7 separate regions of the Homo sapiens genome follow, and all the other regions are linked to region 4. Evidence: promoter capture Hi-C in human tissues and cell types (Jung and others, 2019). All regions are on one chromosome and are shown on one strand. Each heading gives the region's core, a stretch centred on a gene start or on the middle of the fragment in contact. The rest is flanking DNA. Distances are from core to core; before and after follow the strand shown.

Region 1 (4,002 bases), core at 58-2,557, 320 kb before region 4:
CACCTTTTATAATTGATGCAACTGTTAAGTCATCAGTATAATACATGGTACTGGTCATGCCAATTTAGTTCCTAGAATATAAGGATTAATGAAAGTATTATACAAATAAGAAGTTATGGAAAAAGAAAAAACCCCTAAAAGTTGACCGTAAATCTAAAGGGGAAGTAAGAGTGACCTTTCTTTTTGCCAGTCAAGAAAGGTTACTATAAACCTGAAAGAACAGCTTGTCTTAAAAAACACTAACTCTAGATCTTTGCTTGGTTAATGATAAAAACCATGAAATTTGTCACACATGCTGTTTCTCCTAAGTCTTTAAGTGAATTAAGGGAGATAGCAAGCAGTCACTTGAAACCAGAAGATAGTCTATAAATGCACCTATTTTCCAGCTTTGCTACATTCCTCTCATCAGGAAGCTTTCCTACATGATCCTTCTCTCTGGAGCTGTGATTAATGTTTTGATTCATAGACAAAGGTCAGTCTCTTAATCAACAAATGACCTCTATTTCAAACTGTCAAACTTAAGATTTATGAAATTTCACATCTAGGAGTAGAAGCTTTAGAAGGAACTGGCATAAGATCAAGAGTTGGTATTCTAAGCTGGGTGCGGTGGCTCACACCTGTAATCCCAGCACTTTGGGAGGCTGAGGTGGGCAGATCATCTGAGGTCAGGAGTTCAAGACCAGCCTGACCAGCATGGAGAAACCTCGTCTCTACTAAAAATACAAAATTAGCCAGGTGTGGCGGCGCATGCCTGTAATCCCAGCTACTCAGGAAGGCTGAGGCAGGACAACTGCTTGAACCCAGAAGGTGGAGGATGCGGTGAGCCAAGATCGCGCCACTGCACTCCAGCCTGGGTAACAAGAGTGAAAGTCGGTCTCAAAAAAAAAAAAAAGTTGGTATTCTAAATTACTCCCTTCAAACACATATACTCCTACCCGTCCCACTACCACCATTACATTACAGTCCTGGCAAGACCTCTTTCCTTCTATGTGTTCAGTCACCCCATCTGCACCAACTAAAGTTAAAGCAGAGAAAACTATGTCTTCATCGCTGAAATTACCTAAGAAAGTTACTCTAAGAGTGGTAAACTGACTAACATCATTAAAAAGTACAATAGCAGGCCAGGCGCGGTGCTCACACATGTAATCCCGGCACTTTGGGAGGCCGAGGTGGGTAGATCACTTGAGATCAGGAGTTCAAGACCAGCCTGGCCCACATAGTGAAACCCCACCTCCACTAAAAATACAAAAAATAACCAGTCCCAGCTACTCAAGAGGCTGAGGCAGAAGAATCGCTTGACCCTGGGAGGTGGAGGTTGCCGTGAGCCGAGATTGTGCCACTACACTCCAGCCTGGGCGACAGAGCAAGATGTCGTTTCCAAAAAAAAAAAGTCCAACAGCAGTCAAGTGTGATGGCTCATGCCTGTAATCCTAGTGCTTTAGGAGGCCATGGTAGAGGATCACTTGAAACTAGGAGTTCAAGACCAAGCCTGGGTAAAAGAGCAATGTCCCATCGCTACAAAAAAACAACAACAACAAAAAAAGGCCAATAGCAAGATCAACACTTAATGAACAGTTATACACAAGCCACCAGAGAAACTAAAAATGTAAGTTAATAATCACATCTCTGTTAAACTTCTCCAGATTTAAGTATCCCATCTAAAACATTAAGAAATCATCTTCAATCAAGCTAAAATTCTTATATCTGAAATCAAAAATTCACTTTCAGGTATGAACCTATATTTACTATGTTTAGCAAAACTACATAATCAGAAGAACAAATGGATTAGAGTCAGAAGTAGGTCTGGGTCTAGGCACTGCCACTTTGAGCTTCAAATTCCCTAAGCTTCCATTTTCTCATGTGAAAATGTCAAGAATGTCACCTAATGCACAGGATGGCTGTGATGTTTAAATGAAAACATATATACAAATACTTTGCAAATGTGGCCTTATATATAAAAAGAGGCTGTATAGAGTAGTGGCAGGGTCCAGACCAGGTTTCTAGAGTTCAAATCCTGGTTCAGCCTCTCACTGTGTCTGACCTACTTAACTAGTAATAACAGAAGCCATTCCACAGGGTTGTATGAGGATTAAATGAAAGATGTAAAGTATCTAGCACATACTCAAAAAATATCAGCAACTGTGATTTTTTTTTTTTTTTTTAAGATGGAGTGTCGCTCTGTCACCAGGCTGGAGTACAGTGGTGCTATCTCGGCTCACTGCAACCTCCGACTCTCAGGTTCAAGCGATTCTCCTGCTGCAACCTCCCGAGTAGCTGGGATTACAGGTACGCACCACCACGCCCAGCTAATTTTTGTATTTTTAGTAGACACGGGGTTTCACCATGTTGGCCAGGATGATCTCGATCTCTTGACCTCATTCATGATCTGCCTGCCTTGGCCTCCCAAAGTGCTGGAATTACAGGCGTGAGCCACGGCATCTGGCCCAGCAATTGTGATTTTGAACATGATTCTACATTGGACTGGAAATCAACTGTATGTCCCAAAAAGAATGGCCTAAGTGGCTAGAGATAAGTCATACTTGCCTCTTCTCCAATGGCATTAAATGTCCTTCTTTATCATTCCAAGTCATAGAATTTTCCAAGTCCATACCTTTTGGAATTAACTCTTTTATGATTCCATCTCTAAATCTCTTCATATCAAATGTCTAATCCTAGGGATGAAATTTTATGAAATTCAACAACTGTATCCTGCCACCGATTTAATATGAAGTGGCCATCTCTGCAAGATGTTATTTGAGAAGGCCCTGCCCTAAGTGGTAGAGTTGGTTATGCAGCTGCTGATCCTTCAAGAGAGTTTGAAGGAAGGTCAAACATAAATACGAAAGTGTAGCGCTAGAAGACAGAGTAGCAATGAAGTTATGCAAGAGCAAAATTCTGGATATCAGTCTGACTAGGGCAGAAGGCTGAAAACAAACTAAAGGAGAAGAGAAGTAACTAACAAAAGTAGGATACAGTTCAATTCCTAACTTTAAGAAAAAGAAATCATGGCCACGCTTGGTGGCTCAAGCCTATAATCCCAACGCTTTGGGAGGCTGGGGCAAGAGGATCACTTGAGGCCAGGAGTTTGACCTGCTTGGACACAATGCCAGACCCCATCTCTAAAAAATTTATTAAATTAGCTGGGCAAGGTGGCACATGCCTACAGTCCCAGCTACTTGGGAAGCTGAGGTGGAAAGACTGTTTGAGCCCAGGAATTTTAGGTTCCAGTGAACAATGATCACACCACTGCACTCTAGCCTGGGCAAAAGAGCAAGACCTTGTCTAGGAAAAAAATAAAACTAAAAATCGCAGGCCGGGCGCGGTGGCTCATGCCTGTAATCCCAGCACTTTGGGAGGCCGAGGCGGGCGGATCACTTGAGGTCAGGAGTTCGAGACCAGTCTGGCCAACATAGTGAAACCCCATCTCTACTAAAAATACAAAAGTTAGCTGGGTGTGGTGGCGCATGCCTATAAATGCCAGCTACTTGGGAGGCTGAGGCAGAAGAATCACTTGAACCCAGGAGATGAAGGTTGCAGTGAGCTGAGGTCACGCCACTGCACTCCAGCCTGGGTGACAGAACGAGACTCTGTCTCAAAAAATATATACAAATAAAATAAAATAAAAATCATATCTACTTTCCTGTGTTGCTGTAAATCTCAGTGGGTGCTTCAGGAGAAGTGAGCATTATATATTTACAGGCAATAAGAATTAAATGAACTTTACCTGACCTTATTTGGCACTTATTGCTATGATTTTCTTGTATTATTGGGATGTAAGAAGAGAAACTCTGGTGAAAAATATGCCACCTACACTAGAATTTCATACAGCCAAGAGAAACAGAAGATTTACCAAATAAACCAAAATGATTTAATAAACTATAATTTATCCATCATTATATTTCTTAGGGAGCCTATTCATTAGTGGAAGGAAATTCCTGAGAGGCAAAGTAAAGAATCAGAACAGTAGTCCAGAACAATTCACTGTACTACAGTGAGGTACAG
Region 2 (4,290 bases), core at 1,145-3,644, 380 kb before region 4:
AAGAATGACAGAGTTTTGAGGGGCGCCTCTGCCCGGCCGCCCCTACTGGGAAGTGAGGAGCCCCTCTGCCCGGCCACCACCCCGTCTGGGAGGTGTGCCCAACAGCTCATTGAGAACGGGCCAGGATGACAATGGCGGCTTTGTGGAATAGAAAGGCAGGAAAGGTGGGGAAAAGATTGAGAAATCGGATGGTTGCCGTGTCTGTGTAGAAAGAAGTAGACATGGGAGACTTTTCATTTTGTTCTGCACTAAGAAAAATTCCTCTGCCTTGGGATCCTGTTGATCTGTGACCTTACCCCCAACCCTGTGCTCTCTGAAACATGTGCTGTGTCCACTCAGGGTTAAATGGATTAAGGGCGGTGCAAGATGTGCTTTGTTAAACAGATGCTTGAAGGCAGCATGCTCGTTAAGAGTCATCACCAATCCCTAATCTCAAGTAATCAGGGACACAAACACTGCGGAAGGCCGCAGGGTCCTCTGCCTAGGAAAACCAGAGACCTTTGTTCACTTGTTTATCTGCTGACCTTCCCTCCACTATTGTCCCATGACCCTGCCAAATCCCCCTCTGTGAGAAACACCCAAGAATTATCAATAAAAAAATAAATTAAAAAAAAAAAAAAAAAAAAGAATGACAGAGTTAAACAGGAGTATTTTACTATGGAATTATACATTTTTTTTCTTTTGAAACATTTTCCCTATTTTAGAATATTTACCTATTTTAGAATAGACATCTTTTTTTTTTTTAAATTAACAGACTGTGTCTCACTCTTCCACCCAGGCTGGAGTACAGTGGCACCAACATAGCTCACTGCAACCTGGAACTCCTAGGTTCAAGCAATCCTCTCACCTCAGCCTCCCCAGTAGCTAGGATTACAGGCATGCACCACCACACCCGGCTTTGTTGCCCAGGAGAGTCTCAAACTCCTTGCTTCACATAATCCTCCCACTTTGGGCTCTCAAAGGGTTGGAATTACAGGTATGAGCCCCTGTGCCTGAACTGTACTTTTGTTACTCTTAACAAATAAAAAGAAATGTACTTTTATAAAATGTGTTGAAGAAGCACTGGCTTCCTCTCTTAATTCTACTAGTAGGGCAATTCCTGTAACTCCAACAATAATATCAATGATGTGTATAGTGATACGTAACTCCTACACCAAAATAAATGTTGCAAAATAGGCACCATAATGGTTGACTATTATTGCAGTACATAGGTCAGTGACCATTCCTATAATATATAAAAGACCATTCATATAAAAGTTGTGAATTCTTCATTAATTGTTATTTTAAAATTTTTAATACTTTTAATTCTACCAAAAAGTTTCAAGAGCAGTAGCATTAATAGTTCTACACTCTTCTCTGCAATTCTCCAACTGTTAACATTTCTCCACATCTGCTCATCTCCATACTAGCTTAGTATTCTGCTAAGCTACTTGAGAGTAACTTACAAACATCACAACCCCCAAATATTCTAATTGCTGTTTAATCCCAGTATCATCTATACTTTCATATATGATTCAGCCCTTACCAATTAGAATTCTGCTAAAAAATAAGCTCTCATTCTCTAAGGTGGAGGCTAGCCAGCAAACAACACTTAGTGGATTTGGCCTGCTGCCTCTTTTTATGATTCCTGTGAACTAGGAGTGTTTTTTACCTTTTTTTTTTTTTTTCGGGTCAGACAGGTAATGTGCTGACGTATTAATAGTAACAAGGTTCAAGGGTGGCATCTTTCACATACGTGCATGAACACCTAATCATGATCATGAACTATATAAAAGGATCGTTTTTTACATTTTTTAATGGTTGAAAAAAATTTAAGAGTATTCTGTGACATGTTAAAGTTATCTGAAATTCAACTTTCAGTGTCTATGAATAAAATTTTATATTATTTGAGCCACACTCATTTGTTTAAGTATTTCATGCTACAAGGTAGGGTTAAACAGTTACAATAGACACTTTATGACCCACGAAGCCTAAAATATTTACTATCTGGTCCTTTGCAGGAAAAGTTTGTCAACTCTTGCCTTAAGGTATCCATTGTATATAATAAATTAACTTTTTTCTATGCATCTAGAAGGGTATTAGCTGTGTATCATCCTAGAGAAAAATGAGAAAATAAGATACACAAATTATTTTATTTTGGGCTTAATTCTCTCTTGAAACCCCAGTTGAGAAAGACAGTATATACATTTATATAATTAAAGTAAGATGCTTTGAGTATAGTCATCAGTGTAGAAAAAGATACATGAATTTAAAGTTCTGAAATTTGGGTTGATAAGCCCCATTACACCAAATTATTCTGTGAGCATAAAAATGAAACACATGGCTCAAGAGATTACCAGAGGTAAATGTCTGGCCTTATAAAAATCCAAGATACTGTGGGATGCAGTAGCTCACACTTGTAATCCCAGCACTTTAGGAGGCCAAAGCGGGCAGATCACTTGAGCCCAGGAGTTCAAGACAAGCCTGGGCAACACAGCAAAAACCCATCTCCAAAAAATACAAAAAAATTAGCTGCATGTGGTGGCGTGTGCCTGTAGTCCCAGCTACCTGGGAGGCTGAGGTGGGAGGATCAACTGAGCCCAGGGAGGTTGAGGCTGCAGTGAGCCATGACTGTGACACTGCACACCAGCCTGGGCAACAGAGTGAGACTCTGTCCCAAATATTAAAAGAAAAAAATGTTACTTTTTCCCATTCACTATGGTGTTGGCTAAAAAATAAAATAAAATAAAATAAAATTTTAAAAAAAGGAAAGAAAAAGAAATCCAAGATACCAAAAACCTCACAGAATTGGAGTCCCTAAAACGGAGTATGTAAATCGTGTTAAAATTTTTATTTGGCCAGTCGCAGTGGCTCACACCTGTAATCCCAGCACTTTGGGAGGCTGAGGTGGGAGGACTGCTTGAACCAGGAGTTCTAGACCAGCCTGGGCAACGCAGTGAGACCAAGTCTCTACGAAAAAAATTAAAAATTAGTCAGATGTGGTGTGCACCCACGGTCCCAGCTACTTGGGAGGCTGAGGCAGGAAGATGCTTGAGCCTGGGAGGTTGAGGCTGCAATCATCCATGATCACGCCACTGCACTCTAGCCTGGAAAACAGAACAAGATTCTGCCTTAAAAAAAAAAAAATTAAATTTAAAATTTTGTGTGTTCCCAAAATGTCAACACTGCATTTTAACTGAAAGAAAAATGGAAGTTTTGATAAACCATCAGTGAATCTCTTGTAACATCTATCATAACTGGAGTAAACCTCTTCACATGCAACTGTTACATAAGATTACTTACCCGTGTCCGATCTTCAATGTTGTATATTTTTAACTGCATAGGGATGTTGAAGCTATGCAAAAAATTGCCCCCAAACACTAATGTGTCTGTAGGAGTATACACAGCATGAATCCAGCCTAGGAGAAGGGGAACAGAGGGCAGTGGCTGAAAACACACATTACAGTAAGTCTCTCTCAGAGAACTAGTACAAGACCCCTAGATCACACTCTTCACTCTGATTCTGCTTCTTAGTGGTTTGTCAAGTTACTTAATCTCTCAAAGCCTCAATTTCCTCTATAAAACCAGGATAAATAATACCTCTTATGGTTGCTCATGAGCATTAAATGAGAAAATGCACATCAAATGCTTAGCACATAATAAACGTTTACTGGAGCACCAACTATAAACCAGGCTCTGTACAAGATAGTTTACAATTCAGGGGTGTCCAATCTTTTGGCTTCCCTGGGCCACACTGGAAGAAGAATTGCTTGGGCAACACATAAAATACGCTAACATGACCTGGCGCGGGGGCTCACGCCTATAATCCCAGCACTCTGGGAGGCTGAGGCGGGTGGATCACGAGGTCAGGAGTTCAAGACCAGCCTGGCCAACATGGTGAAACCCCGTCTCTAGTAAAAATACAAAAATTAGCTGGGCATGGTGGTGCACACCTGTAATCCCAGCTACTCGGGAGGCTGAGACAGGAGAATTGCTTGAACTGGGACCTGGGAGGTGGAGGTTGCAGTGAGCCAAGATCACGCTACTGCACTCCAGCCTGAGGCTACAGAGCAAGACTCCATCTCAAAATAAATAAATAAATAAATAAAATAAAATATACTAATACTAATGACAGCTGACAAGCTTAAATAATTGCAAAAAAAAAAATCTCATAATGTTTTAAGAAGGCTTATGAATTTGTGTTAGGCCACATTCAAAGCCATCCTGGGCTGCATGAGGCCTGTGGCCTGCAGGTTGGATAAGCTTGGTTTACATGTGTTCTCATTTATATTCCTTATAACAAAATGAGAC
Region 3 (4,244 bases), core at 1,425-3,924, 380 kb after region 4:
TCGAATGCCTCTTTTCCATTTCTGTTGTCTCTGTCCTTTACAGTCCAAGTTGTCAGTGTTTCTGCCAATACAATTCTCTTAAAAACTTTGTAGATTTCTATGGACCTTATTCACTTCATTAGACTATGCCCACAAATCTCTTTGAGATAAGCCCCCCTACCTTGGGCTCATGCTGATAGACAAATCCTTTAACGTTTCTAGAAGCCCTTATTGTTTGAATGGTTCTATTGCCTTAGACCTGAAGTCTTAGGGAATTTACAGGCATACTGTTGGCCTCTTGGCTTCAACTTTATACCATGTTTTTCTGATGTGATCTTTTTCCAGAAGCCATTTCTTAATTTTAGCATTGTTTTTGGCTGGAGAGGCTGGGAATTTTCTTCTTCTTCTTTGTTTGTTTGTTTGTTTGTTTTTGAGACGAAGTTTTGCTCTTGTTGCCCAGGCTGGAGTATAATGGTGTGATGTCGGCTCACTGCAACCTCCACCTCCTGGGTTCAAGTGATTCTCCTGCCTCAGCCTCCCAAGTAGCTGAGATTATAGGCATGCATCACCACTCCTGGCTAATTTTGTATTTTTAGTAGAGATGGGGTTTCACCTTGTTGGTCAGGCTGGTCTTGAAGCCCTGACCTCAGGTGATCCACCTGCACAGCCTCCCAAAATGCTGGGATTACAGGCATGAGCCATTGCACCTGGCTGAGGCTGGGAATTTTCAAAATCATCAAATTCTAACTATTTTTGGTTTAACAGAGCTCCTGTCAGTTTATAACTTGCCTCTCAACTCTCATGTTTTACTCTAAGCAGGAAGAAGAAATAAGGTACTACCTGTAACATTTTGCCTGGAAATCTCCTTAGCTAGATCACATATTTCATTAGGCACATCTTCTACCTTTTTCTTCTTTCTTCCCTTCCCTTCCCCTCCCTTCCTTTTCTTTCCTTGCCTTTTGTCAGAGTCTTGTTCTGTTGCCCAGGCTGAAGTGCAATGGTGCATTACTTGCAGCCTTGAGCTCCTGAGCTCAAGCAATCCTCCTGCTTCAGCCTCTGCAGTATCTGGGACTACAGGCACATGCTACCATGCCCAGCTTAGTTTATTTCTATTTAAAAACATTTTTTTAGAGATAGAGTCTAGCTATGTTGCCCAGGCCGTTCTGAAACTCCTAGTGATCCTCCAGCCTCAGCCTTCTGAGTTGTCGAGATTGCAGGTAGGAGCTACCATACCAATCTACACATTATGAAGGATGACAATGTTGCTAAATTACCTGCCACTATACAACAAGGATCTCCTTCCCTTGAGATCCAATAATATTTTCCCACTTTCCTTTCAGCTTTCACTATCAGCCTTCTCTAAGGCCATCAGTCTTCTTAAAGTAGTCCCATGATCCCTCACTCCTGGTATTCACACCTTTATGTCAACCCCTTCCCTTGAATGTGGGTGGGCAGGACCTATGACTTTCTTCTAACCAACAGTATATGGCAAAGGTGATGGGTTGTGCCTGATTACATGCACATAGTGATGTTATTATGTTATATAAGTTTGTAGCACCTGTCTTGCTGGGGTCTCTCTCACTCCTTGCTGGCTTTAGAAAAGCAAGCTGCCATTTTGTGCACTTCCCATATGGGGAGGCCCATGTATCAGGGACCAAGAGTGATCTCTAAGAGCTGAGAATGGTTTGCAGCCAGCAGCCAGCAGAAGGAAAAAAAAAAAAACAAAAAAAAAACCTCAGTCCTGGAGCTGCAATTGAATCTGCCAACAAAAGTGATTCTGGGCTGGGCGTGGTGGCTCACACCTGTAATCCCAACACTTTGGGAGGCTGAGGTGTATGGATCACCCGAGGTCAGGAGTTCAAGACCAACCTGGCCAAAATGGTGAAACCCCATCTCTACTAAAAATACAAAAATTAGACAGGTGTAGTGGTGCACTCCTGTAATCCCAGCCACTAGGGAGGCTGAGGCAGGCGAATTGCTTGAACCCAGGAGGTGGAGGTTGCAGTGAGCCGAGATCGTGCCACTGCCCTCCAGCCTGGGCAACAGAGTGAGACTTTGTCTCAAAAAAAAAAAAAAGAGGATTCTTCCCCAGTTGAGTCTCAGATGAGACCACAGCCCTAGCAGACTCCTTGATTGAAGTCATGTGACACCCTATGCTGAGGACTCTGCGTAGCCATGCCTGGACTCCTGATCCCACAGAAACTGAAGTAATAAATGTGTGTTGTTTTAAGCTGCTATGTTTGTGGTATATTGGTATACAGCAGTGGATGACTAATACAAAGGCTTTCAGACTTTTGCTAACACTATACTTAAAGTCTTTCTAGCCTCTGCTCACTACTCCCACATTTTTAGGTATTTTTTATTGTCCTCACTCCTGGCATTAAATCTTTTTTTTTTTTTTTTGGCTGGGCACGGTGGCTGACGCCTGTAATCCCAGCACTTTGGGAGTGAAAGTGAAACACAGTGAAACCCCGTCTCTACTACAAATACAAAAAAATTAGCCGGGTGTGGTGGCGGGTACCTGTAGTCCCAGCTACTCGGGAGGCTGAGGCAGGAGAATGGTGTGAACCCAGGAGGTGGAGCTTGCAGTGAGCCGAGATAGCGCCACTGCACTCCAGCCTGGGCGACAGAGTGAGACTTTGTCTCAAAAAAAAAAAAAAGAGGATTCTTCCCCAGTTGAGTCTCAGATGAGACCACAGCCCTAGCAGACTCCTTGATTGAAGTCATGTGACACCCTATGCTGAGGACTCTGCGTAGCCATGCCTGGACTCCTGATCCCACAGAAACTGAAGTAATAAATGTGTGTTGTTTTAAGCTGCTATGTTTGTGGTATATTGGTATACAGCAGTGGATGACTAATACAAAGGCTTTCAGACTTTTGCTAACACTATACTTAAAGTCTTTCTAGCCTCTGCTCACTACTCCCACATTTTTAGGTATTTTTTATTGTCCTCACTCCTGGCATTAAATCTTTTTTTTTTTTTTTTGGCTGGCTCTGTCGCCCAGGCTGGAGTGCAGTGGCATGGTCATGGCTCGCTGTAGCCTCAAACTCTTGGGATCAAGCAATCATCCTACCTCAGCCTCCTGATTAGCTGGGACCACAGGAGCATGCCACTGTGCCTGGCTAATTTTTATTTTTATGTTTTGTAGAGGCAGAGTTTCACTATGTTGCTCAGGCTGGTCTTGAACTCCTGGGCTCAAGTAATTCTCCTGCCTCAGCCTTCCAAAGGGCTAGGATTACAGGTGTGAGCCACTGTGCCCAGCTGGCACCAAATCTGTCTTAGTTATTGCTGAGTAGCAAATTATCCCAATCTAAGCAGCTTAAAAGAGTAAGTGTTTAATCTCATACAGTTTCTAGGAATCACGAACTTGAAAGCAGTTTAGCTGAGTGTTATGAGCAGTTCCATGCAAACCTACCCCCAAAGTCCAAGAAAGCTGAGAGGCTGAAGAAAGAGACTGACAAATCCAGTTTCTCAGAAAGAAACATTTAATGACTTAGAAACAGAAGTGATGTCTTAGGCGGCTGCAAGACAATGGATCCCTGCACCCACACTCCAGAAGGTATCCTTTCTCTTTTAGGGTAAAACATGTGCAGCTGGTCACGTCTTCAGACTTCTTTTTGCCAAGATCCATGACCACTGGCGGGGTTTAGATAAGCATCTTTGTGAGGGGCTTTCTATGCTAGAAGGTGTTGTTTAAAGAGCTTACTGCAGAGCACCTTGGTATGTGGGGGTCAAACATCAGTCACCACAAGAGTTTCACTTCCAGATGGTGTCATATTTGCCATGAAATACACTGTTTTCCTATGCTGGGACCTGAGTTCTGGCTCAAGTGTCTCATGGGGTTGCAGTTAAGAAGTCAATTGGGACTTTAGTCATAAGAAAGCTTGAGGGCCGGGTGATCTACTTCCCAGAGGCTCACTCATATGCCTGGAAAGTGAGCGCTGGATGTTGGCAGGAAGCCTGGGTTCTTCTTCATGTGGACCTCTCTGGAGGACAGCTTGAATGTTCTTACAACACCAACACGGCAGCTGGATTCTCCCAAACAAGTGACCCAAGAGTCTAAGACAAAAGCCACAGTGAGGCTGAGCAGTGGCTCATGCCTGTAATCCCAGCAGCTTTGGGAGGTCGAGGTGGGAGGATTGCTTGAGTCCAGGAGTTTAAGAACAGCCTGAGCAACAATAGTGAGACCTCGTGATATAGTTTGGATATATGTCCCTGTTCAAATTTCATGTTGAAATGTAATCCCCAATGTTGGAGATGGGG
Region 4 (3,928 bases), core at 771-3,270:
CCTTCCTGCCCCCACACTACATACCCATCAGCCAAAGACCGACCATCCCCTCCCCCCGGGGCAGTAGCTGCCTGCCCCACCACCTACAGCTGTCCTGCACCCCAACTTCCCACGGTCAGTGGCCTCTCCAATACTGTGGCCCTCAGTTCCCAATTCCTTCTCCAGAGTGGCCATTAGCGACATCATCATACACCCTAACCCAGGCCAGCTAGCCAGGACTCACCAGCAGACAAGAAGATGTTCCCCACGCTGCTCTGGCGGAAACGCAGCTGCTCAATAATATGGTGAAAATGGGCTGGGAAAAAGGTGACAATCACATCACAGTCATTCCTCCCAGCCTCCCTTCTAGGACTGCCCCTCACCTCAAGCCCCCTTCTGAGCTCTCATGCTGAAAACACACCAGGACTAATCTGGCCAGACTCACCAACTCCAAAAAAGAGCGGGCAGGTGAACACAGCAGGGCCCAGGCCCATGCACGGTGCTAACATGGGCAGCATACAGGCCCGGAACACCAGCTCCTCTGTCAGCGGGGCGATCACTTGGTTCCGCAGCCAACGCATGTCTGTGAGGCAGCGGGCCCAGGAGCGGGGGGCTGCAGAGGGAATTCAGGACAAGCTGTGAGTGACGGGCTGTCAGACAGTGAGACCCCAGAGGCTCCAAGGGCTCCTCTCCCACAACTTTACCCTGGCCAAACTCAGGTTAGGCATCAATACTGCTGAGGACGGGGGTGTGGACCCAACATAAACCCAATGTCTTGAGATGACCTGAATGGAAGGCATTAGCTGAGGCAAGGGCATCCTGGAAGTAAACTCTGGAGACACCAAAATTTAAGCAAGACTAGCTCTGGTTGGGGAAGCAGGGGACAGTGCTCTCTGATCCACACCAAATACTGCTGGGGGTTCCCAGGGAACTCCTTGGACGTTGGCAATCAACCCTTAGAGGCCACCTAGCTCTATGTTTCCATTTTACTGATGAGAAAACACACCCAGAGAGATGACATTTCACGTGTCCAGATCACACCCTGAGCCCGCTGACTCCCTGCCCCAATGTCCTGGACTGCCTGTGCCTACTTTTCCCTTCAGCCTTTAAGACTCACCCAGGACAACCTTCAGCCCATCTGCCAGGTCACAAGGGCAATCCATAGAGAGCTGCATCAGTGGGCCCAGGAAAAGAATCTGAGGGCAAGAAAACACTTTCACCATAACCCACCGCTTTTGCCCAGACCTTTGCCCATGCTCCCTGAGACTCCAAGCTTGAAATCCTCTCCAGCCACGATTTCCAGACCATGCATACCGGAGGACCCTGGGGCCATCTCAAAAGTCCTGTCTCCCATCAACCAAAAACCAAAAACAAGAGTCCACGGCACTGCCCATCAGGCTGATAACAAAGACCAGAAGAAAAAATACAGCAGGAGCACTCACCATGGTCAGCAACAGGGGCAGCAGCGCCGCTGGGAAAATGCCCTCCAGCCTGAAGCCCATCAGGGTGAGCAGGGATGTGCCTGGCTGAGCCACAGGAAAGGGGGCATCAGTTTTGCTTCCTCCCCTAAAGACCCCTGAGCTCTCACCGCCGTTGCCCTTTGCCCCGCCTCCTTCGCACCTGGATGCCTGTGAGTTCCCTCCAGAGCAGCACGCACAGGGGTGAGAGACTGGACACCACCAGGACGCTGGTGAAGCGTCGCTTGATGACCGCGGGATGGTCCCTACGGAGGGGACAGTAAGTTCAGGGGGCCCGCGGCTGCCCATGAGCACGGACCCGCCCCCGGCTCGCCCAAGCTCCGCCCGCAGGGCGCGGATTCCGGTCGCGCGCAGCCCCCGCACCTGGGCAGTTCGCTCTTCCAGACGTAGAGGCTGCCCACGTAGGAGCAGGCGAGGCTGAGGCAGGAGAACACTGACACCCAGCAGCACAGCCCGGGGCCCAGGCCGCCCAGCGCCGCCGACTCGGGCGGCCGCTCCGGCCGCGACACCGACAGCAGTCGCAGCCCATCCCCGCCCAGCGCCGCCATTGCGCCCTGACCCGCGGCGCGCACCAGTGACGCAGTCCCAGGGAGGTGTGGGTGACGTCAGGCCGCGGCGCGGCTCCACGCCCCGCCCCGCCCCGCCCGGGCCCGACGCGGAAGCAGACGCGGAAGAGGACTTGGTGAGCGCGCGGCAGCTTTATTAAACCACGGGATAACGGCTGCCCGCAGCCTCCGGATCGGTGGGCGCTTGCGGAAGGGGACCCGGCTCAGGGCCCAGGGCTGGGACTCAGCCACTCTGACAGGTTGGAGACCTCCTGCAGCCACAGCACGTCCTGCGGGAACAAGGGGGCCCGGGGTGAGGACCTCTCAGCAGCGGCCCGTGGCCTGCACCTCCTGCTGAGCCCTTCCCTGCGCGGCCCTCGCCCAGTTACCTCCAGGCGGCTTCCGAGGCTCGCCCTGCCCGGCGCCAGGGCCCTGCCGTGAGCCTCGCGGTGCTCCCTTCCTCTAGGAGTGAGGGGGGCCGCGGTGGCTTCCGGGCGGCGCGGGGCGGCCTCTGACGGGCTCGGGGCCCTGGCAGAGCGCAGAGCTCGCATCTCCTCTATGCGGGGGCTGCCCCTCTTGAGCCTCTTGTTTTCTGCTTGCCCGCTGGTATCTAGGAGAAAAACAAGCCTCTTCATCTTACTTTCATGGCCCTGTGCTAGGAGCACCCTTGGCCAAGGGGAAGCCTGGGAGAACGGGCGCCGAGGGGCTCTTCCCACCGCATCCCTGTCAGCAGGTCCCATCCACACCAAAACCCTGCAGCTGTGGGCGCTTCTGGAGCAGCCCGAGGCTGCAGAGACGTTTCAGGGTCTCCCTATTCTCTCACCCAGGCGGGAGATTGTCCCGAGCCCTCACTTGGGGGACTCAGGCCGCTCAGTAACTTTCTGTATAGATTCTTCCTGGAGTCTGCACTGACAAGCTCCCCTCCCTGCCAGCCTCTGTCCCCCCTCACCTTTCTGGCCTCAGTTCTGTCTCCCTTTGTTGCTCACGTTGCATTGAGCAGTGCCCATAGGCAGCTTTCCTACTCTTAACTGATTCATTTGTCAAATTAAAGCGAGTTTAGATGGATAGATTCTTCCCCAGCAGGTCTTGGGGATGCAGATCAATGAGCTTTTCCCTGAGAGAAGCTCACAGATGCTAGGAGGGGATGCAGACCTGTGTACAAAGCCCAGGGTTAGAATAGAGAAGGAAGCCGACCACCTCTGGATGTGAAGAAGGGTTTCCATGAGGAGATACCTGAGCTGACCTTTTGTTTTTTTGAGACAAGGTCTTGCTCTGTTGCCCAGGCTGGAGTGCAGTGGCTCAGTCCTGGCTCACTGCAGCCTCGACCTCCTGGGCTCAAGCGATCCTACTGCCTCAGCTTCAGCTTCCAGAGTACCAGGAACCACAGGCGCATGCCACCACACCGGCTAATTTTTTTTACTTGTAGAGACAGGGGTCTCACCGTGTTGCCCAGGCTAGTCTCAAGCTGTCCTCCCGCCCCAGCTCCCCAAAGTGACGGTATTACAGGCATAAGTCACCACTCCTGCCCCAGAGCTGGGTTTTGAAGGATGAAGAGTGATATGCCAGACAAGGGAGAGAAAGGGAATTTCTTGCTGAAAGTTAACACAAACCTTATGCAAAGGCATAAAACAACTTCCTATGTAAATTTTTACTTTTTAAAGATGAGGTCTCGCCTGTCACCTAGGCTGGAGTGCAGTGGCGTGATTGTAGCTCACTGCAGCTTTGAACTCCCGGCCTCATCCTCTCGAGTAACTGGGACTAAAGGCACACACCACCTTGCCTGGCTAGAAACAGATTTTCATCTGTAGAAGACAGGAAGCCAATAAAGAGTTTTAAGCACTGGTGAAATATATTGGTAATTTTGTACTTCAGAAAGATCGTTCTTTCAAAGGTGTGGCTTAGATCAAACTAGAGACAGGAAGACCT
Region 5 (3,765 bases), core at 1,065-3,564, 410 kb before region 4:
CATATTGAGCTCTGTGAGAGAGTAGCGAGTGGAAGACCCGACAGCAGTGAGTAGATTGGAGGACTGATCTGTAAGGTGGCTGCAGTGACTGAGGTCGAGTCGAGACAGGAGGGGCATGTGGCGAATTATGAGGCGAAGCGTGGCATCTGTGATGTCAAGGCCTGCCAGCCGGAAGTCGGTCATGTTCCGGAGCTTGCTGCGATTGTCCTGACCTGTACAGGCAAGAGAAGAGCCTAGATCAAAACTCTCAATTCTCTAATCCAGCTTCAAGGCTCCAGGCAGCAACAGCTACTTGCTGGCCAGGCCCCCTTGAAGGGGTTAAGTAGAACTGCCCACACCCAGCCATGCCTTCAGGGTGTGAGCACTGGGTGTAGGCAGTTTCTAGGAAACCAGACAAGTTTTCTTTCTTCTCAAGCTGCTAGATTATGCCTCATGCACACAGCAAAAGGCTATGTGCAGAATGCTCCTCCCCTTCCAATACCACCACACTTTTCTAGACCATCATGCAAATAGCTTTTGACTCCACCTCCACCATAAAGCCTTCTCAGACTTTTTCAGGCTTACACTCTCTGGGCCCCAAACTCCACCAACTCACAAAATGGACTTACTCCATTGTTTGTAGGTAGTTATCTGCTTATAGTTACCCTATTCTTGTACACAGTCCATCATTCTGTTTTCATTTTGTGCTCTTCTATTCTTCCACAGCGTCATATCTGAGACTACCTTAGCTTCTGAAGACGAGGTCTGTTTGGAAGACAAAGCTACCCCAAGACAAGCACAGAGAAGTCAGGTCCAGAGCATACCTGGTTTATCAGCCGGTGGAGTAAGCAAGTCCCGAATTTGAGGGTCCTTGATTCCTACTGCCCACCGAAGATCAAGGGTCCTGAGAAGGGGGCAGCTGGAGGTGCTGAGGGCAGAGACTGCAGACCAGGAGCAGCCTGCTAGGAGGAGGTCTTTCAGTCCTGCAATGGATGGAATGAGACATGTAATAATACACTGTTTCCCAGCATACTCAGAGCCGTAACGATCTGAGCAAAGTGAACAAACTTCCAGTCTAATAGGAGAGAAGGACTATGCCTAATCTTTTAGTCATCCAGCTCAAAGATTTCCATGGTATCCTATACTACATCTTCTAGCTTTAGTGGTAAATTGATTGCTTAGTTCCCACCAGAGCAATACAAGAAGGAGTGACTTCCTGTCTTTCTAAGAGCTCAAAATGCTGAAGAGAACAAGGGCTTATAAGGAGCTGACCAAAGTAACATCTGACTCAAATTTCCTCTTTAGTGGTTATGCTGAGGAGAACTGCAGGGCTGGCAGCAACACTGATTCCGTTCTCTTTGCTGTCCATTGCAGTGATTGGCCTGCCAGTCCAGAGTGCTGCCTGGGAGACTGACACTTAAGATGGCCCTGGGTAAACCTCTTGCTAAGCAACAATGGCATGGGACTGCTGCCCTACACTGCCCTCCAGTGATGCTAAGAAGCACTGCCAATAATGCAACTTTTCTTGCCCGCTTCTTCTGGGCCCCTGGAAAGACAGCGGCAGGGCTGCTCACTTACCTGGCAGCCTATTGACGAGCCATGTCAGTTGCTTTTTAGAGATGTTGGTCCAACTGAGGTCAAGGCTGACTGGCTGCCTCTTGATGATGCCACTGAGGGCCTGGGGCACAATGGCCTTACACCTACTCAAGTCAATTTTTGTCCAAAGTCTCTTGTCGCAGCACCTGTGATAGAAGGGAAGAGAACTCGCCTTCATTAACTTGATCAGTGGAGCTCCCATCACAGGCTGCTTATGGCTTCTGGGAAAAGCAGAGTACCTGGAGGCTCGTTCTTCTACAAGTGTACAGGGATCACACCTTATCATTTTTTGCCTCACAGAATAGGCAAAAAATTGCCTTGAACTCTACAACAACTAGACGCTTTGCAAACCTACATGTTGATAGTATATAACTTGACCACTTTACCCTGATTTATTCTGGAGTGTTTGAGAACACAACAGTTGTTAGGGACCCATAGCAAGCAACAGTCTATAGCCCCTTCATCTGTATTAAAATGGCATGGTTCCTGCTGAAGTGTATATAAGGGAGCCTCTTGAAGTTTCTAGACTTCTTACTGTCTAAAGCTAAGAAGGCCTGCTCCGTTCCCTCCCTTGTCAATCACTCGCAGCTGCCTGAAATGCAGGGTGCTACTCAGCACATCCACAATTCACCCTGCCTTCAGCCCATTACTGTATCAGGTCAAAAGAGGCTCTTTATCAGGCTTACAGAGTCCTCTCTCACCCTCAAGTTCTGCCTCAGTGCTATCCTGACATTTTCTAGCCAGGCCAGACCAGAACTGAAAGGGATAGGCCTGGCTTTCCACTGCAGTCTACAAATCTACAGGCCACAAACCACAACATGCTGGCTTCAATTTAATATTTTATAGCCCCTGCCCCCCAGCCTGGTTGGCAGGGGAAGAGAGACAGCACATAACGGGAATCTGATGTGCCTTGCCCTGAAAACCAAGAGGTAGAGCCAAGCAGTCCTATTAGCCCTAGACAGAGAAATATTAAGGAGAATTTAGATACACTATACATTAATTCAGATTTGGGAAATAAACTCATGTTTGCAAAGAATAGGGTCTATTTAGAGACTGAAACAATTTTACCAGTGGCACATGAAGCTTCTATGGCAGAAGCAAGCTGCTGACAATACAGCAGATTTTGCTGCTCTAAACTCGAGCATGCATCAGAGTCCCCTGGAGGAGCGCTTGTTAAAGCAGACTGCTGGGCCCACCCAAGAGGTTCTGATTTAAGAGGCCTATGAGGGTCCTGACAGTTGACATTTCTAAAAAGTTCCTGAGTGAATGCCATTGGTCAGGACACCACACTACTGTAATAGGATGTGTGTGACCCAGATAAAAAGGATATATCCTAGAGTAAATATATACCAGAGTTTAAGGAAAAACCAACAATGCCCAATGGGAAGCTCCTTGTTCATCATCACTAGCAATTTTTTCCCCCAAGTGTCTGTCCAACTTAAGAAGAAATGGTAGCTCTCATTAAGGAAGCTTCAAAACTGGACTCTGCTTGCTGGAAGAGGGAATTCTGATCCAGGTTTGGGGGGATGAGCATTAAAACTGAAGAAAAATGTTAAGCACCTTCAAATTCATCTTGAAAAGCATGCCCACTTCTCTCACTGAATGGAGAGGTAATTGAGTCAGGGGCTTAAGTGAGGTTATCTGTGTTATCAGCACCAGAAGAGTGACTAGAACATCATAGGCTCTCAACCAACATGTGATGAGTTCAGCTGACTTGAGGAGGAAATTTTCAGCCCGCAAGACTCTCAAGTTTTATCACAGACTACAAATCTATCCCGCAAATCAGTCTCCCTCCCCATAACAATGAGACATGGGAAAGTATAGAGCAGGGCCAGGAGGCAAATGGCCAGTTCCCTAATGACATCTGCGGGTACAACAGGCTACATCTTTAAACAGGACCCAAAGTTTGGGAAAAAGGGTCAATTCACTCCTCATAAGACCCCACAGGCTTTCAGATGCCAAGGTGCATGCTGTTCTCATATGGAAAACCTGCCACCTACTCCCATACCCCTAATTCCTGACCCCCTGAATCCCTGCTCACCATTTATACCACGTCTTGCACACTCGCATACATTCACAAAGTTCTCTGCGGCTGAGGTAGCGGAAGACAGACATCCAGACCTCCCGCTGCATCCAGCTTTCGTCTCCATCCTGAGCCCAACTGCCCCGGCCATTCAGCCTGGCTGCACC
Region 6 (3,779 bases), core at 995-3,494, 310 kb after region 4:
CTGATTTTTTTTTTTTTCTTTTTTGAGACGGAGTTTTGCTCTTGTTGCTCAGGCAGGAGTGCAATGGCGTGATCTCGGCTCACTGCAACCTCCGCCTCCTGGGTTCAAGCGATTCTCCTGCCTCAGCCTCCCGAGTAGCTGGGATTACAGGTGCCCGCCACCATTCCTGGCTAATTTTTGTATTTTTAGTAGAGACGGGGGTTTCACCATGTTGGCCAGGCAGGTCTCAAACTCGTGACCTTGTGATCCGCCCGCCTTGGCCTCCCGAAGTGCTGGAATTACAGGTGTGAGCCATTGCGCCTGGCCATGCCCAGCTAATTTTTTTGTATTTTTAGTATAGACAGGGTTTCACCATGTTGGCCAGGCTGAACTTGAATTCCTGGCACCTGCCTCCACCTCCGTCTCCCAAAGTGCTAGGATTACAGGCGTGAGCTACCGTGCCTGGCTGACAATTTTTTATTATTTTATTTTATTTTATTTTATTTTATTTTATTTGAGACAGACTCTTGTTCTGTTGCCAGGCTGGAGTGCAGTGGCACGATCTCGGCTCACTGCAAGCTCCGCCTTCTGGGTTCACGCCATTCTCCTGCCTCAGCCTCTCAAGTAGCTGGGACTACAGGTGCCTGCCACCACGCCAAGCTAATTTTTTGTATTTTTAGTAGAGACGAGGTTTCACCGTGTTAGCCAGGATGGTCTCGATCTCCTGACCTTGTGATCCACCTGCCTCGGCCTCCCAAAGTGCTGGGATTACAGGTGTGAGCCACCACTCCTGGCCGGCCAGGATGGTCTTGATCTACTGACCTCGTGATCTGCCCGCCTTGGCCTCCCAAAGTGCTGGGATTACAGGTGTGAGCCACCGTGCCCGGCCGCCTGGCTGACATTTTCAAAGATGGAAAGTGGATGGAGAATTAAGAGCTGAAATTATGTGTTCCCAAAAGGTGGGGCCAAAAGGCAAGTGGAATTACCTGCCAGAGCCCCGGAGGGGCTCAGGAACTCCACCAGGACCATGGAGGGTGAGGTGAGGCTTCGGCCAACAATGGGGACCGATGGAAAGTCTATGTAAGGATCAGTGGGGTGCCGCTCCCCCACATCCCACCCACACCCCACCCACATCATGCAGCCAGCAGCTACACCTCTGGGTGGGGTGGTGTGACGTGAGGATTATTTGAAGGATAAATGGAACCAGAGAAGCTTCGGGTCTTAGGCGTACTGGGGAGGGGTGGGTGAGAGGCTAGACCAAAAAATGGGGTTAAGTGAAAGTCCATAGATACTGCTGGGGGGCCTCCCATGAAAGAACATGCTTGACCCCCAAGAACCTTCAGAGAAACCCACCCTCTGACAGGCTCTGCCCATGCCCACAAAGATCTGAGCTGCTTGGCTGGTTGTTTTTGTAACAGGCATGCTCTGTTGCTATTTTTTAATGACAGGAGGAACTTGGTGTACCTGGCACTTTGGGCTGCACAGACGCATTAGCAGACTCACCTTGTCCTGTTTCATCCCTCGCCCTCCACAATTTCTTATTTTCTTTCTTTCTCTTTTTATTTTTTGAGACAGAGTTTCACTCTTGTTACCCAGGCTGGAGTGCAATGATGCGATCTTGGTTCACCGAAACCTCCGCCTCCCGGGTTCAAGCGATTCTCCTGCTGCAGCCTCTCGGTAGCTGGGATTACAGGCATGTGCCACCATGCCCGGCTAATTGTTTTTGTATTTTTAGTAGAGACGGGGTTTCTCCATGTTGGTCAGGCTGGTCTGGAACTCCTGACCTCAGGTGATCCACCTGCCTCGGCCTCCCAAAGTGCCGGGATTACAGGTATGAGCCACTGCGCCCAGCCCACAATATCTTATTTTCATGTTTTTTTGTGTGTTTTGTTTTATTTTTCGAGATGGAGTCTCTCTGTTGCCCAAGCTGGAGTGCAATGGCGCGATCTTGGCTCACTTCCTGGGTTCAAGCGATTCTCCTGCCTTAGCCTCCCAAGTAACTGGGATTGCAGGCACCCACCATCATGCCCTGCTAAATTTTGTACTTTTGTAGAGATGGAGTTTCACCATGTTGGTCAGGCTGGTCTTGAACTGCTGACCTCAGGTGATCTGCCCACCTTGGCCTCCCAAAGTGCTGGGATTACAGGTGTGAGCCACCATGCCTGGACTCGTTGTTGTTGTTGTTTTTAATTAGTGAGGAGCTACAAGAACACATTTATAAAAATTAAGAGGAAACAGCCCCACTGCATTTGAGAAGGTTACCATTTCCTTCGAAGTTCCTGCTGTTGCCCCTTCCTGGTGGGGGAGACACTGTCCTGTTTCAGTCATTCCGTTGCTTTGCTTTATAGTTTTATTAATGTGTTTGTGTTGGCTTTGCATGTTTTCAAATATATGAATGAAATCATGCAGAGTTTATTCTTTTACAGTTTGCCTTTTCACTTGATTATGTTCCTGAGATGTATCCGGATTATTGTGTGTAGCTGTATGGCATTCCTTTTCCCTGCTGCCTAGTGATCCATTGAAAATACAATAATTGATTTTTCTATGTGGTTCCACTGGTCATTTTTCTGCCCCTGTGCCCTTTGGGAATCATCTCCTAAACTCTAGTCTCGGCCCTTGCTCTTCCATGTAACCTTGAGAATCAGCTTGTCAAATTCCCCCCAAAAACCCCTTGAGATGTAGAATGGAACCCAGCTGAATCTATAGATCAGTCTGGATAAAATCAGCACCTGTGTAAAATTGAATTTTCCCATTCATGAGCAGGGTTTATTTCTGCACTCAATGTTTTCAATAAAGTTGTGTACCTTTTCCCATAAAGATCATGCCTTTTTAAATTGGATTAATTCTTAAGTATCTGATATCGTATGCTATTATACATGCACTATCAAAATAGACTGTGAGCCTGGGCAACATAGTGAGACCCTGTCTCTGCAAAATACAAAATTAATGGGGGCTGGGCACTGTAATCCCACACTTTGGGAGGCTGAGGCGGGAGGATCACTTGAGGCCTGGCGTTTGAGACAAGCCTGGACAACATAGTGAGACCCTGTGTCTTAAAAAAAAAAAAAAAGCCTTGTGTGGTAGTGCGTCTGTAGTGTGGGGGATGGGGGTGGGCTGAGGTGGGACGATGGCTTGAGCTCAGCAGGTCGAGGCTGCAGTGAGCTGTGACCGTGCTTCTGCACTCCAGCCTGGGTGACAAGAGCTAGACTCTGTCTCAAAAAAACTAAAACAAAAACAAAAGTTGTGTCCAGGCCAGGTGTGGTGGCTCATGCCTGTAATCCCAGCACTTTGGGAGGCTGAGGCAGGCGGATCACCTGAGGTCAGGAATTCAAGGCCAGCTTGGCCAACATGGTAAAACCCTGTCTCTACTAAAAATACAAAAATTAGCCAGGTGCAGTGGTGCATGCCTGTAATCCCAGCTACTCGGGAGTCTGATGGAGGAGAATCACTTGAGCCCGGGAGGCAGAGGTTGCAGTGAGCCGAGATCACGCCAGCACACTCTAGCAGATCACGAGGTGAGGAGATCGAGACCATTCTGGCTAACACGGTGAAACGCTGTTTCTACTAAAAATACGAAAAATTAGCCGGGCATGGTGGCAGGCGCCTGTAGTCCCAGCTACTCGGGAGGCTGAGGCAAGAGAATGGTGTGAACCTGGGAGGTGATGCTTGCAGCGAGCCGAGACCGCGCCACTGCACTCCAGCCTGGGCGACACAGTGAGACTCCGTCTCAAAAAACAAATAATAAAATAAAATAAAATAAAATAAATGAAAAAAATCTTTAAAAACTCTAATGACTTTAT
Region 7 (3,870 bases), core at 258-2,757, 480 kb before region 4:
CAGTGTGTGCTGCCTGGGGAGACAGGCTGCTGCTGTTCTGGGCAAAGCAGGCCAGCTCCAAGCCTTCTCAGGCCATATGAAGATAAATTAGGTAGGATGCATATAACCAGCTCCCTCTCCCCAGGGGCATCCTCCTTTACCCAAACCTGTCTCCCACCTCCGCCTCCATGGCTCTGGCTTGAGTTATGCCAGCAGGTGGGACCCTGCTTTAGCCTTTAGCCTGAGCCTTTACATTCCCTGCCGCACTCACCTTCCACCTTTACCTCTGTGGCTCACTGAGCTGCTCTGCCAGGGCTGCCAATGAGATGGGGTCGCATAGGGTGTAGCATTACTATCCAGGCCAATCCCATCAGGCAAACTTTTGCTAACTTCCTTCCCCACCCAGTGGGAGAACAGTTTTCCTATTCCTGGTTCTCTAACCCAGATACAGAATCCCCTGAAGTCTCACAGCTACCCAGGGTGCCTATCTGGGAGAGGGTGCACCTGGCAGAGTCAAGGGGAAGAGCACAAGTTCTCAGTGCCCTGAGAACAAGTCAGCATGTACTGAGAGCATGAGAGTGAGAGAGAAACTCAGATCAAACTTGTCCAATGACAGGCAGAAGCTGTGCTGAGATAAGACGCTGAGGAAAATGGGCAGTAAATTCTAGCTGAAATGGGAACAAAGGAGAGTCTTGGTCTAGTTTCAGGTTAACCTAGGACCGTGCTCTCACTAGCAGGCAGATGGCACCCTGTCAGTGATTATGGAGGTGGTGGAAAGATCACTGCTCTCAGTGGCATCATTTAGTTCTTTGACCTACAACCTAAGAAATCAGATCCCTCACGTGGAAAAGTGAAAGTCACAATACAAGACCTTACAGCTGTTGAGGTCAAATGAGATCACATGTAAGTGCCAGTGCTTAGTAAACTGTATAGGACCATAACGCCCTTGAAGTAGGTGGACAGAGGCCTCCATGGCAGGCACTGGGCTGTCATAACCTCTTATCAAGTACCAGGCCTGGAGCTACTCAGGCTTCACATGCACTTAGCTATAAGGAAATCCTGATACACACTGCAGGCCCTTACCTGCAGCCTGTGGAGCGGGAGTGAAGTGGGAAAGGAGGATGAAAAGGAAGAACCATTCTCTGGAGAGGGAGCACGGGCTGCCAGAAGGATGGTGTAAAGGCTCACCTTGAGTTGCGTCTCCAGGAGAAGGAGCATTTGTGGCCCCCAGATGTCCTCCAGCATCCCATATCTAGGGACAAAAAGGACAGCCAGTTGTGCTCTATCCCCTGTCTGGTTGCACCTGCTTAATCTCTCCCCAGCTTCCTTGTTCTAAGGATGACTCCACCTTCTGAGCAACAAAACATTCCACGGGGAATCTAGACCTTGGATGAATTAAACAGGACTTGGGAGGATTTGCCCTGTCCTCAAGCCATTCTCCTTTCAACCTTTTCTACTTTTGCTATCCCAGCTCCTGAGGTCATTCTCCCCTCCACAGGCCATTAGACACCTGTCTCTAAGGGGTCTCCTTCAAGGCTAGCTCCTAGGGCAGGTTCAGCCCTGGACAGAACTGGAGAATGGCAGGGCCCTGGCTGAAGTCAGCTTCCTTCCTGTGCAGCAGCGGCAGGCCTTGGCAATCTGCTGGCATGGTGGACACAGTTTCCCACTCCCAACTGGGTCACAGATGGGAGAGAAATCTCCCTAGGAAGGAGCCATAGAAAAAGAAAAGCCAAGAATGGACACAAGAGTCAAGGGAGTGTCCATCACTGGCCTGAGGACTGCTGCATGGTCCTATGCTTCCGTTTCCTTCCCTCATGGTTCTTCACCTTAGTTCCAGGGAAAGAGGCTCACAAACCCCCTATCCATTGATGAGACCTTGTTCCCTGGGCTCTCAGCTGGTACTGTGCCAAAGATGCCAACAATATGGCCCTTGCCCCATAATCATCTGCCCATTCGCTTCCTTCCCCTAGAAGAATGGCTCTGAGACAGCAGGTGAGTCTAATAAAAGAGCTTCAGGGTAATATAGAGACCACAGCTCCATTCCTCTCTACAGGAAACTCATAGCCCCTATTCATTCACTAATATTTACCATGGCAACCATGTGCCAATCAGGGGAGGAAAACGCTGACCAAAATCTAGTCCCTGCCTCCCAGAAGCTCACCATTTAATCAGGGCTGCAGATAGCTCTTCTTCATGTATCTCAAAGCTATGGAATGGGTGCCCAGAATATCTTTTCCCTACTTCTTGGCATATCCACATTGTTTACATGCTTTAGGAGGTTCAGAAGCTGTCTTCTTGATTCTCTCATTACACAGTGTGACTCGACAGCGATCTCTCCTGCCTCTGAATCTTCAGAGCAGTAACCTGGACCTCTCTATGACACATCACTTTCTACTTGAATTTTATATGTTTTAAATGCATAATTGATCTCCTCTACTAGACTGTATTTCCTGAGGGCAGAGAGTGTCTTATACATCTTCATATCCCTCACAGCACCCTGCACAGTTCCATGTACACAGTAGGTGCTCAAAAAATATTCATGGAAAGCCAAGCGTGGTGGCTCACACCTGTAATCCCACCATTTTGGGAGGCTGAGGTGGGCAGATCACCTGAGGTCAGGAGTTCAAGACCAGCCTGGCCAACATGGTGAAACCTCATCTCTACTAAAAATACAAAAATTAGCCAGGCATGGTGGCGTGTGCCTGTAATCTCAGCTACTTGAGAGGCTGAGGCAGGAGAATCGCTTGAACCCAGGAGGCAGAGGGTGCAGTGAGCCGAGATCACACCACTGCCCTCCAGCCTGAAAGACAAAGTGAGACAAGACTCCGTCTCAAAAAAAAAAAAAAAATTTCACGGAATATAGCTTCCATATAAAGATGTTTGTTGGACGAATGAAGGCTTGTTCGTGAAATTATTGGATGTTCCCAGATTTTTAAAATACTTTTTTCATTAATTTAAAACTCCTTGTTACAATTTTCTCAATTAACACAAAGCTTGAACTCAATGCAAGCAGCATAGAATTCTTACGCATTCTTTATAACCATGAAAGTAACCAGTCTTATGTAAATACATAATTCTATATTCAGCTGTTTTTGCATCATAAGTACTCACATCCTCTATGAATCTTAAGTATCCACCCTACTATGTGGCATTAAGCCTGCATCCTCCCTAAATGCTGTGTGGTAACGCTATAATTCAGCCTACAGCTGAAGGGAGGCAATACACTGGCCTTGAGCATCCAACCTTGGGTGAAAAGACTCAAGTTTCCCCATCAAAATCAGCCTATAAAACCATCCTGCCTAGCCAGGTGTGGTGGCTCACGCCTGTAATCCCAACAATTTGGGAGGCCGAGGCGGGCAGATCTCTTGAGGCCAGGAGTTTGAGACCAGCCTGGCCAACATGGTGAAACCCCATCTCTAACAAAAAATACAAAAATTAGCCGGGAGCGATGGCACACGCCTGTAGTCCCAGCTACTCAGGAGGCTGAGGCACGATAATCGCTTGAACCCAGGAGGAGGAGGTTGCAGTAAGCAGAGATCACGCCACCGCACCCCAGCCTGGGTGACAGTGAGACCCTGTCTCAAAATAAACAAACGAACAAAAAGCAAAAAACCGCCCTGCTTAGGAGAATGAACTTGCCCAGAAATAAAGTGAATTCAAAAATTAAGAAAAGGTCTTATGGTGGCTAGGGACTATTGTAGAAATTATCAGAAACGATAGTTGGGACCTGGGATAGCAGTTCCTCTATGCAGTCCCTGGGCTAAAAACTTACATGCGTCATCTCATTTAATCCTCAAAAACCTGAGGTAGTATTAACATTATCCCCAATCTTGCAAATGAAGAAGCTGAGTCTCAAGAGATGTCCTAACTTTGCCCAAAGTCACAAACCCA

Evidence for each region. Contacts are between HindIII fragments. The study calls those that stand out against the background at their distance.
Region 1: a fragment that was not itself captured here is called in contact with the fragment with the promoter of RCE1 in region 4 in 3 of the 25 tissues and cell types used here (IMR-90 fibroblasts, adrenal gland and small bowel).
Region 2: a fragment that was not itself captured here is called in contact with the fragment with the promoter of RCE1 in region 4 in 1 of the 25 tissues and cell types used here (adrenal gland).
Region 3: a contact is called between a fragment that was not itself captured here and the fragment with the promoter of RCE1 in region 4, in 1 of the 25 tissues and cell types used here (lymphoblastoid cells).
Region 5: a fragment that was not itself captured here is called in contact with the fragment with the promoter of RCE1 in region 4 in 1 of the 25 tissues and cell types used here (dorsolateral prefrontal cortex).
Region 6: a fragment that was not itself captured here is called in contact with the fragment with the promoter of RCE1 in region 4 in 1 of the 25 tissues and cell types used here (dorsolateral prefrontal cortex).
Region 7: a contact is called between a fragment that was not itself captured here and the fragment with the promoter of RCE1 in region 4, in 1 of the 25 tissues and cell types used here (hippocampus).

Annotation. Positions count from the first base shown.
Region 1 is chr11:67,162,015-67,166,016 of GRCh38, reverse strand. The region is part of intron 2 of KDM2A (lysine demethylase 2A); the gene reads right to left. Among named protein-coding and RNA genes, the nearest start is that of KDM2A, 45 kb to the right of the region's middle. The HindIII fragment of the contact is 3,841 bases long and covers 1-3,227 here.
Region 2 is chr11:67,218,396-67,222,685 of GRCh38, reverse strand. KDM2A (lysine demethylase 2A) reads right to left here. Exons shown (of 21, transcript NM_012308.3): 10 at 3,283-3,398. LOC124902839 (small nucleolar RNA U13) reads right to left here and starts at 1,778; the gene lies at 1,670-1,778. RefSeq lists an enhancer at 1-428. The HindIII fragment of the contact is 8,883 bases long and covers 1-4,290 here.
Region 3 is chr11:66,458,813-66,463,056 of GRCh38, reverse strand. No RefSeq gene overlaps it. Among named protein-coding and RNA genes, the nearest start is that of PELI3, 6.0 kb to the left of the region's middle. The HindIII fragment of the contact is 3,279 bases long and covers 1,035-4,244 here.
Region 4 is chr11:66,841,533-66,845,460 of GRCh38, reverse strand. It overlaps RCE1 (Ras converting CAAX endopeptidase 1), which reads right to left and starts at 2,020. Exons shown (of 8, transcript NM_005133.3): 1 at 1,821-2,020; 2 at 1,600-1,702; 3 at 1,422-1,505; 4 at 1,097-1,175; 5 at 425-592; 6 at 224-295. The coding sequence starts at 2,005. TOP6BL (TOP6B like initiator of meiotic double strand breaks) reads right to left here. Exons shown (of 15, transcript NM_001302084.2): 14 at 2,392-2,612; 15 at 1,945-2,292. The coding sequence ends at 2,227. RefSeq lists an enhancer at 1,443-2,149 and silencers at 1,790-2,229, 2,340-2,479, 3,697-3,823. The HindIII fragment of the contact is 26,172 bases long and covers 1-3,928 here.
Region 5 is chr11:67,250,650-67,254,414 of GRCh38, reverse strand. KDM2A (lysine demethylase 2A) reads right to left here. Exons shown (of 21, transcript NM_012308.3): 17 at 3,617-3,765; 18 at 1,558-1,721; 19 at 804-962; 20 at 1-212. Among named protein-coding and RNA genes, the nearest start is that of GRK2, 14 kb to the left of the region's middle. RefSeq lists enhancers at 1-260, 1-916. The HindIII fragment of the contact is 4,594 bases long and covers 18-3,765 here.
Region 6 is chr11:66,534,643-66,538,421 of GRCh38, reverse strand. ZDHHC24 (zDHHC palmitoyltransferase 24) reads left to right here. Exons shown (of 3, transcript NM_207340.3): 3 at 1-2,796. Among named protein-coding and RNA genes, the nearest start is that of ZDHHC24, 9.5 kb to the left of the region's middle. The HindIII fragment of the contact is 6,777 bases long and covers 1-3,779 here.
Region 7 is chr11:67,318,631-67,322,500 of GRCh38, reverse strand. LOC100130987 (a long non-coding RNA gene) reads right to left here. Exons shown (of 4, transcript NR_024469.1): 2 at 1,168-1,231. Among named protein-coding and RNA genes, the nearest start is that of SSH3, 17 kb to the right of the region's middle. The HindIII fragment of the contact is 6,804 bases long and covers 1-3,870 here.